2 separate regions of the Homo sapiens genome follow, and region 1 is linked to region 2. The links are contacts of gene promoters, found by promoter capture Hi-C in blood cells and fetal thymus (Javierre and others, 2016). All regions are on one chromosome and are shown on one strand. The core of a region is centred on a gene start or on the middle of the fragment in contact, and the rest is flanking DNA. Distances in the headings are between cores, read along the strand shown. Region 1 overlaps TTC34 (tetratricopeptide repeat domain 34). Region 2 holds the start of PANK4 (pantothenate kinase 4 (inactive)).

The links. The method cuts DNA at HindIII sites, captures the fragments that hold promoters and counts their contacts. A CHiCAGO score of 5 or more calls a contact.
Region 1: a fragment that was not itself captured here is called in contact with the fragment with the promoter of PANK4 in region 2 in 2 of 17 cell types (activated CD4 T cells and total CD8 T cells); the score reaches 5.6 in activated CD4 T cells.

The regions. Positions count from the first base shown.
Region 1 is chr1:2,636,375-2,640,725 of GRCh38, forward strand. TTC34 (tetratricopeptide repeat domain 34) reads right to left here. Exons shown (of 9, transcript NM_001242672.3): 9 at 612-4,351. It overlaps MMEL1-AS1 (MMEL1 antisense RNA 1), which reads left to right. Exons shown (of 3, transcript NR_183343.1): 3 at 1-246. Among named protein-coding and RNA genes, the nearest start is that of MMEL1, 5.5 kb to the left of the region's middle. RefSeq lists a silencer at 1,663-1,863. The HindIII fragment of the contact is 158 bases long and covers 1,554-1,711 here.
Region 2 is chr1:2,524,369-2,528,662 of GRCh38, forward strand. PANK4 (pantothenate kinase 4 (inactive)) reads right to left here and starts at 2,228. Exons shown (of 19, transcript NM_018216.4): 1 at 2,096-2,228. The coding sequence starts at 2,219. RefSeq lists enhancers at 2,255-2,975, 3,697-4,294. The HindIII fragment of the contact is 7,457 bases long and covers 1-2,625 here.

The DNA of each region.
Region 1 (4,351 bases), core at 383-2,882, 110 kb after region 2:
AACAGAGAATGTGTGCACAGTGCCAGGCACAGGTGTGGTCAAGATTCACCTGGGAGAGGAAGTGGGCAGGGGCAGAGGAGTGTGCCCACCTGAGCTGAAAGGCTGCATGGCAGGTGACCATTATCACCAGTGTCGCCAGCCAGGTCACCTCTCTGAATTTTGTGGTTGCAACCTCCATGATTCCCTAGAGCTGTTTTTACCCAGAACTAATGAAAAATTCTGCACATTAAATTCATGCTATTAGAATCACTGTTGTGGTTTCCATCTCCCAAGTAGACCCCAACTGATACATAAATTCATACTAGGAGGGGGTCCCCAGAGACAGGCCCTCAAAGTGACACAGTCAGGTACCTCTTTGGTCACTTTGCCAGCCAGGTACCTCTGGCTGCTGACACCCCCCCTCCCCAGGCCTCTCTTGGCCATGCTACCTGCCGCAGGAGGTGGCCCACCCACTCAGCCTGCCTGGGCCACACCTGGCTGTTCACCAGCTCAGCCTGTGGCTGGGCTGGGCATGTTCCAGCCTGCTTGTGTTATAGCTTGTACCCATGTATGGCAGTTCCCAAGTTCTTGTCCCGTGTCCAAGAAGAATGAGGAGATGCTGCCAATCGAAGTGTGAGAAGGGCAGAGAAGAATTTTATTGAGAGACGGAACAGCTCTCAGCAGAGAGGGGATGCACGGGTGGTTCCCGACCTGAAGTCAGGTGGTTTCTCTCCTAGTGTGGCTGGGTCCGGGGCATTTATGGGCTCAGAATGGGGGAGTGCATGCTGATTGGCTTCTGATTATGCAAAAAAGGCTTAAACAAAGGTACCACTCAAAGGTGGGCATGCCAGTGTAGAAAATGAATTAGGAAAAGATAGGTACATGTAAAATAGGTGAAGGGTGGGGATCAATCAGAGGAAAGCAGCCAAATGGGAAGATGGGTTCTCAATCCAGGCTGAGGATTTAATTTGTAGCTTGGCTTTCAGGCTTTAAACTGTCTTTGGCTCGGAGGTGGGGTTTCACTGGGAACCTGTCCCTGTCTGCCTAGGATTTGTCTGCCTCCTGTCACTATCAAAAGGTGGGGTCCGGGGATTAGGTTAGTGTGGTTGTTGCTTGGGCTGGGCTGCAGGCCGATCTCCTGGCCAGTGGGAAGGGGAGGCTGTTGGCCCACAGTGTTGTTGGGGGAGCTTCACAGTTAACCAAGCCATCCCCCATGCTGGCTGTGAGGCACCAGCAGAATTGAGGGCCTCGGGAACCCACGTGCTGCTGTGTGAGGCTGTCACGGCCACGAGGATGACCACAACCACGAGGGCTGTGGGGGGTCCCCTGAGTGTCCAGCAGCACTAACAGGAAGGAACCACACGTTCAGGTCTCTAAACTCAGTTTAAGTCATAGACAGAGAATCAGGACTGCCATGGCCATGGAAGAGTCCCTTGTTCCTGAGAGCCTCGGGGCTGCTGCTGCTACAACTCGGATGCACAGTTTAACTCTGAGTTGTGTGACTGCTGTGTGGCTCACACTCACAGCCTCACTACTGAAACGTGGGCACTGAGTGGGAAGGAACTGGATGCTGAAGCTTGGCATGGGGATGTCTGGTTGGGCTCAGATGAAGCTGAGAATTGTGAACCCCCTGGTTCTCTGAGCCTCTCCTTCCAGGGGAAGCAGCTTGTCCTCCAAGATCTGAGAGTAGCCTTTATTTATTTTTTTTGTTCTGCTTGAAAATGCTGTGATAAGCTTACCTGGCCAGGTGCCTAGAAATGATGCTCATTTTATTTAACCACCATAGCCACCCTGTTGCCTCTAGAACCTCAGTGTACTCCCAGGGAGGGGAAGGGTCAAGTACAAAGCCTGACTCAGGAAGGAACCACTTTCACACCAAAATGCTCGTAAGATGTTACAAATTCACACACGGAGACCTGGGAACCGTGTGGGAATGGAGGGTAGGGTATTAATGCAGCTGGACCGGCTTGGCTTTATTGATGCAGGTACACTTACTAGAGATTCTGAATTTAATGCGCTAGCTCACATTAGCTGCTGGAAATGACTCTACCAGTTTACTTGGTTGAATGAAATCTGGATTTGCTGGCGGTCTACAGTTAATGAAGGGGAGATGCTGGAATGTCCCTGGTGTAACGTCGAGGCAGGAATCGTGCAAAGCAAGGGCCACCCTCCGTCCCAGCCTGATTTCTCTCCACCTCCAGCTGAGCACTGAGGAAGACGCAGGCCGGGGACTGCCCAGGGAAGTGGTGGATCTGCAGACAGCGTGAGCTCCTGGAGCGTCAGGACCCAGAGCAGCTGTGGACATGCCCCTCCAGGCGGGACACCCAGGCCTCAGGGACGAGTGCGTCCATGCCTTAAGGGCTGCTGGTTGTGGGTGTCTGCTTGGTCCTGGAGAAACTACCTCAGGAAAAGCCAGGGCTGGACCCCAGCAGGGATGGGATAAGGGGAACCGAGACTCACCCACTGTGCTCAGGGCAGAGGTGGTGGGCCGCGGGAACGGGCATGTCTTTGTCTATCTGGACTGCCCCAACAGAATAGCAGAGACAGGTGGTTCATCAACAGATACTTATTTCTCACAGTTCTGGAGGCTGGAAGCCCAAGATGAAGGTGCCAGCTCGCTCTCTAGTGAGGATCCCTTCCTGGTTCACAGACAGCTTCTCACTGGGTCTCCACATGGTGGAGGGGCTTGGGAGAACTCTGGGGTCTCTTTTATAAGGACACTAATCCCACTCATGAGGTTCCACCCCTGGTCATCTCCCAAAAGCCCCACTTCTGATACCATAACCTTGGGGGTTAGGATCGCAACACATAAAGTTTGGGGGAATGCAGACATTCAGAGCCCAGCAAGGAGCCAGGCCAAAGGCTGATGAGAGATACCTGCTGGGTGAGCTGGTGGTAGAGGGGGCAGCCCCCTGGTGGGGGAGAAACACAGCGATCCTGAGGTCCAGGAGGAGCCTCAGCGGGGCTGGCATCTACACTCAGCCTTGCACGGATGGATGGGGCAGGACATCCCAGGCGAGGAGGACGGTAGGAGCAGGGAACGTGGTGGGGAAGGGCACCCCTAGGGGACGCCTCCCCACTGCCTCCACCTGGCCCCGACATTGGAGCAGGCCCTTCTGCTGTGACCAGGCTCTCTGGACCAGCCCTTGCCTCCTCTGCCTCAGTGCCGACTGGCCCACCTGACCCGAGGAACTTGCGTGTCCCTGAACTTAGCTCTTGGGCTGCTGACAGGTGTTTGTTGAGTCCTTGAGCACACGGGTGAAGACAGGGAGGGAAGGGTGGATGGGGAGCTGGCAGGCGGAAGATGGATCAAATTGGTGCCTGCGCTGGGGAACCCCGGAAGAGGGGGACTGCGTGAAGATTCCGAGCGGGGAAGGCGAGGAGCGGGGCTGAAGGTCCCTGTCAGGGCCCTCTCCCACTGTGGGCTGCCCATCCCCGAGGTACTCAAGGTGGGAGGCACTGACCCTTTACCCAGACCCCTGTGGCCAGAGACACATAGGCGGTGCCAGCTGATGAAGGTGCATGGGGGTTGAGGAGTGGGTGAGGCCTGAGGAGGAGGGGGGCTACCCAGCCCTGCACCTGCCGCCTGGGGGCCCCACTTCCATGCAGGGCGAGGAATAGGGCCCCTCCCTGCCTGACCCCCTGGACTGGGGTTCGTCAGATGATCCCAGAAGCGAAGTGGGTGGAGAGGCAGGGGGTCTATCTGTGGGTTCAAGACCATGGAAGGAAGCGGCAGAGAAGGGGACAGAAATGGGACAAATGCAAGTGCCCAGGAGGAGAGAGAAGCCAGGAGGGGGGGTCGTGGCCCTGTCTCCCCAGGGTGAAGTCAGGCAGGGCTTGGGGGCACGTTTTGCACCGAGTCAGCTCACCCAGCATGTCTCTCGCCCATGGCCATGAGAGAAAGCCCCGGGCTGAGGCCTCAGTCTGTGACACTCACAGTGATGGGCAAAGGCTGGCTGCCTCTGCCCCACCCAGAAGTCCCCAAGCTCACTGGCAGCTGCAAGGCCTGGGGACATTTAACGCACGTATAAGAACAAGCTGTTCTCTCGCTCTGTGGAAGCACTGATACCTCCCAGCAGCTTCGGGAGACAGGTCTGGTGGGAGCCTGGGGACTGTGCTCATCAGGGCCCCTCGGTGGTCCCTCTGCTTGGAAGGGAGGGGCCTGTGGAGGAGGGAGGAAGTTTACCCCCAGCACACTGGATTCTCGATGAAGGGCCCCCATGAAAGCACCCTGAAAGGTCAGCTTGGGGTATGGGCTGGCTGGGCCCATTTGGGAGCTCTGTCTCTGGAGAGGGCTCAGGCTCTACTGGAGGCTGGCCCAAGGCTCAGGGTCCAAGCAAAACGCAGCTTCACACCCAGGGAGGGGCTTCTG
Region 2 (4,294 bases), core at 978-3,477:
GGTTGAAGACACCCCACCCTGAGCGTGGCCTCCCAGCAGCTCGGTCAGGAGTAACAAACAAAAGGTCTCTCAGTATCAGTCAACAGGTCCTCTTAAGAACCAGAGACACAGGACCCAGACGCAGGGAGAAACTTTGAAGAGGGGAAATAAATACCAGCACTAAACAGACCTCTTAGAGTATCCTTCTACCAAGAAACCCCCTGGGCTCAGCCTGGAGAACAGGCTGGTACTCCAGGGCCCTCTAGGGCTGCGACAGCCCTTCCTGGACAGCCCCAGCTCTGCGGCTTCACTGGCCTCTCGGGGCCACACAGAACATCCACGGTGAGCCCTGTTCTCCTGGCCATTCCCCAAGTGACTTATGCAGGTCAACTGCAATTGCATTTCAGAAACATTTAATCCCGACTTGCTTCCAGTAACAGAATCCCCCAGTGTAAGGGCAGCAGAACCTTGCAGAGCACACGCTCTACCGGGCCTCAAGGTCTCAGAAGGCTGGGAAGCATGGCTGGGGAGCCTCTGGTGAGGCCTGCGGTAGACAATCCCCTAGGCTAGGGCTGCAAGCTCAGCACCTGCAGCCCAATAACCAGTCAGTCCCAAGTCCTATCAGCGGTCCCTAAAGATGCTACTCACACGTTCTCATACCTGGCACCAGGCCACACCCCCTAAGAAGCATTGCCTCCCATAAGCTCACTGAAAGGTGGGAGCCAGGACCTATAGCTACTTCCATTCTCATCGCCCCCCACTTCCCTAGAGGACACCCTTCCCTGGCTGGACATCTCAGAGAGATGATGACACCAACAACCCCGAGGACACCACAGCAGCAAACATGTCAGATGCACCAGGAGCACACAGCTCAGAGGGAATGGCCTGGGTCTCTCTGAGTCCCAGCTTTTCCAGGGAGGTGGGAAGCAGTCAGCGGCAGGCCCATTCATCCCAGTATTTACTGGGCGGCAAAGACAGGTTGGGCATCCTTTTCGGGGGCTGGGGCTACAAGACACACCGCTGCTCTTGTGGGATTCACACACAAGCAGACTCAGCCTACGACCGAGATGAGTGCTAAGAGGGAGAGGTATGTGAAGCCGCAGCGGCTATTCAAGGGGGGTTTCTCCAGGTGAAGCTGCCCCCAGGAAGCCCTCATGCCTGAAACATGGGCAGAGTAGGAGAGCAGGGAGTGGCTGGTTCAAATCCTGGTTCTGCCACTTTCTAGCCCGATGACCCTGGGCAAATTAGTTCACCTTTCTGGGGCTTGGTATCCTCATCTGCGAAAAGGGAGTAATTCGCGTTCCTCCCCTAGAGGTGGCTGGGAGGTGTCCGGGAGTCAGGAGCGTGGGAAAAAGGTCTAGAACAGAGCCTGGCCCGCCGTCATTACTGAGAGCACAGCCATCAGGCAGGAGGGTCTGCAGCGGACCCTGGAGAGGCCAGGGCAGAAGTGCAGGCCGCCTTAAAGGCCACGGAAGGCACGGGTGGCTTTTAAACCAGAGGCACGAGTTCCCAGGTCCCACGTCCACGGCCGCCTGAACTCACGCCCGGCGTCCACTCTCCAGAGAGCGGGGCCTGTGCACGGACTGTCCGGCCCGCGGGCCACAGCTGGCCACGCCGCGGGAACGCGCGGCCTTTTCGGGGCCACTCTGCCAAGGGCTTCCCGCCGAGCTCGTCCTCGTCTCGACCAGAACTAAGGACCCCAAATCTCAGGCCAGCCACCAGCCAAGCGGCGGAGCCGGGGCGCCCAGATGCCGATGTGGCCGAAGACATAAAATTCCGCCGACCCTCCCACCTCGCGGCGGGTAACGCTGGACCCCGGCCCCCAGCCACCCAGGACGGCCGCGCGAACTACCAGGCCCGGCAGGCCCCGCTCTGGTCCCTGCGGCGCCTGCCGGTAGCTGTAGTCCGGCCGTCGCCCCGAGCCCGCGCATCAGCGACCCTGCGGACTACAAGGCCCGTGAGGCTGTGCGCGGGCCCGCGGACTACAAGGCCCGTGAGGCTGTGCGCGAGGCCCGCGCCCCCGCCCTTCGTCCTTCCCGCCGCCCCCGCTCGCCGGCCCACCGCCGGCGCCCCGCCCGCCCCCGCAGCCCGCGCCCGGCGCCCGGCCTGCGGCTACCTATGTCGATGGCGAAGCGCTTGGCGTTCTCCAGGTTGCGGAAGATCTCGTCGGGGGGCAGCGTGATGCTCTTGTCCAGACTGTCCCCGCTGCTCCCGCTGCCGCTCGCTCCACACTCCGCCATTTTGAAAGTGCCCGGCCAGCTCATCAGCCATGGAGATATATGCGCATATATTTGACTGCCAAACGCCCCCTCGCATAGATTATGTTAATGAGGCGCCGGCCCCGCCCCTTCCCTCCCCCACCCCCGGCCTCTGAGGTCTCGGCCGCTACAGGGCGAGCTAGGGCCAGTGCTGGGCAGGGGTCCGAGAGGCCCGGGGCTGCGGGCGGGCGGGCGGTTATCCTCCAGAGATCGCGCATCAGCACAGAACATCTGGACTGATGTTCTTTTACCGCGCTGTCCACAGGCTTAACTCAAGTGCTCTGAGCCCTGCTGAGGGAGGCCGCAGAGGCCGCCCACCTGCTTCTAAGGGGGCACGTGGGTCTGCAGACTGTCAGAGAGCCCTGCCCTTCAGCGAGTGCCTGCTGTAAGCTTGGCCCTGCACGCCAGGGCGAATGTGATGCGCTCTTTGCTAGGGTGACTCAATCCTGGCTTCCCAGGGGCGTGGGACTTTCAATGTTAAAAGTCCCATGCAAACCAGAGGAGTGGGGAACCCTGCCCCACCTGGGAGGAGCCCCAGCCTGGCATGCACCTGCGGGTAGGGAAGATGTGTGCTGTAATGGCGATCCGTGGAAAGTGCTGTGGTCGGGGGAAGCCAGGCAGGCTGCCTGTGGGCAAGACAGGTGCCTGGGAGGCTGCAGGAACAAGCCTTGGAAGCAGCTGGAGCCAGGACAGGGGTATAGGTGGGGCAGGCCAGGGTTCCAGGGTGAGTGGCTGGGAAGCCCTGCTGGCATGAAGAGATGCGTCTTCTCCAGAGGCTCTGGGCGCCTTGGGAAAAAGCCCAGTGTTGGAAGCAGACAGATCAGCCCCTCCCGGGTAACCCGGGGTCATTACTGCATGTCTCTGGCCCTCAGCCTCTGTCTGCACGTGGAGAATGCCACCAGCTGCCTGGCAGGGCTCCTGGGAGCACAGGCCTGTGGGGCGGCACAAACTCCAGGGATAATGCATCTGTGTGCGCAGGGCAAGCCTTCAGGGAGGAGGCATCCTTGCCTGTGTCTTCCAAGGGGGTGGGTGTGTGGCTCTGGAGGGGGAGCCTGCCCCAGGGAGGCCTGGGTGGAAGAGTGGAGCACACCCCAGGCGGCTTAGACCTCTGGCAGCTCAGACCCCTGGCAGCATGGTGTGCCATGGGCCAGGCTGGCAGGAGGTGCCCTCCATGAGGGGCGCCCACCTGTGTGCCCACTGAACATGCGGGAAACATGCAGGTGAATGGGGGCCTTCCCTGTCCTCTGCCCACCATACCCCGGGGCTCGGTAGGGACCACTGGCAGGCACTGGGTTGGTCTGGTGGGGGGACCCTGTCTAGACTGCCTGTGGAGTAGCCAGAAAGGGGCTGAAGGCTGAGCGGAGCGAGAGGGGCTGAGCAGGAAGGAGCAGGCAGGGCAGGCCCACACACGGGGCTACCATTCAGCGGGGGTGGGAATGCGGCCCACTCCGGCCCAATCCTTGCTGGATGGATTTTGCCCCTTGGGAGCTGGTCCCTGGGAGCCACAGGCCTCAGTTCTTGCAGACTCAGCCAACACCCTGTGGCCTGCCTAAAAATACATGCCCTTTCTGAGGCAAGGGATGGCCCCGTGCAGGCTCCTGCCAGGACTGCCAGATCCTGCCTTGGCACGGTGGCCAGCGGGCAGGTGTCCCCGGAGCCCATGCCAGGACTGGCGCTGCAGGCCGTGGGAGTGTGCAGCAGCAACTCGGGGCAAATGTTTTCTCCTGTTTGGCCCAGGGCCAAGCCCCTTTGGCTGTAGCAACAGATCTACTGCGGGCTGTGGCCCTGGGTCGCCTCTCAGTGGACACAGCCTAAGGTCCTGCGCTGTCACCTTGCCCCACCCCTACCTTCCGGAAGCTAGTGAAAGGCCTGGGCGGGGGGAGACCCAGGGCTCCGACCATGTCCACCCCTCCAGCCCACCTCCCCCTGCCCCTGCCCCTCACCTGCTTTCCCTCCATCCCTCCCTCCCCCTGTTCTTCCGGAGCAAGGACCCCACCCTTCTTCCGGGGTCCAGGGGGCCACTGGCAGGGGTCCCTCCCTGCTTAACTGCTACCATG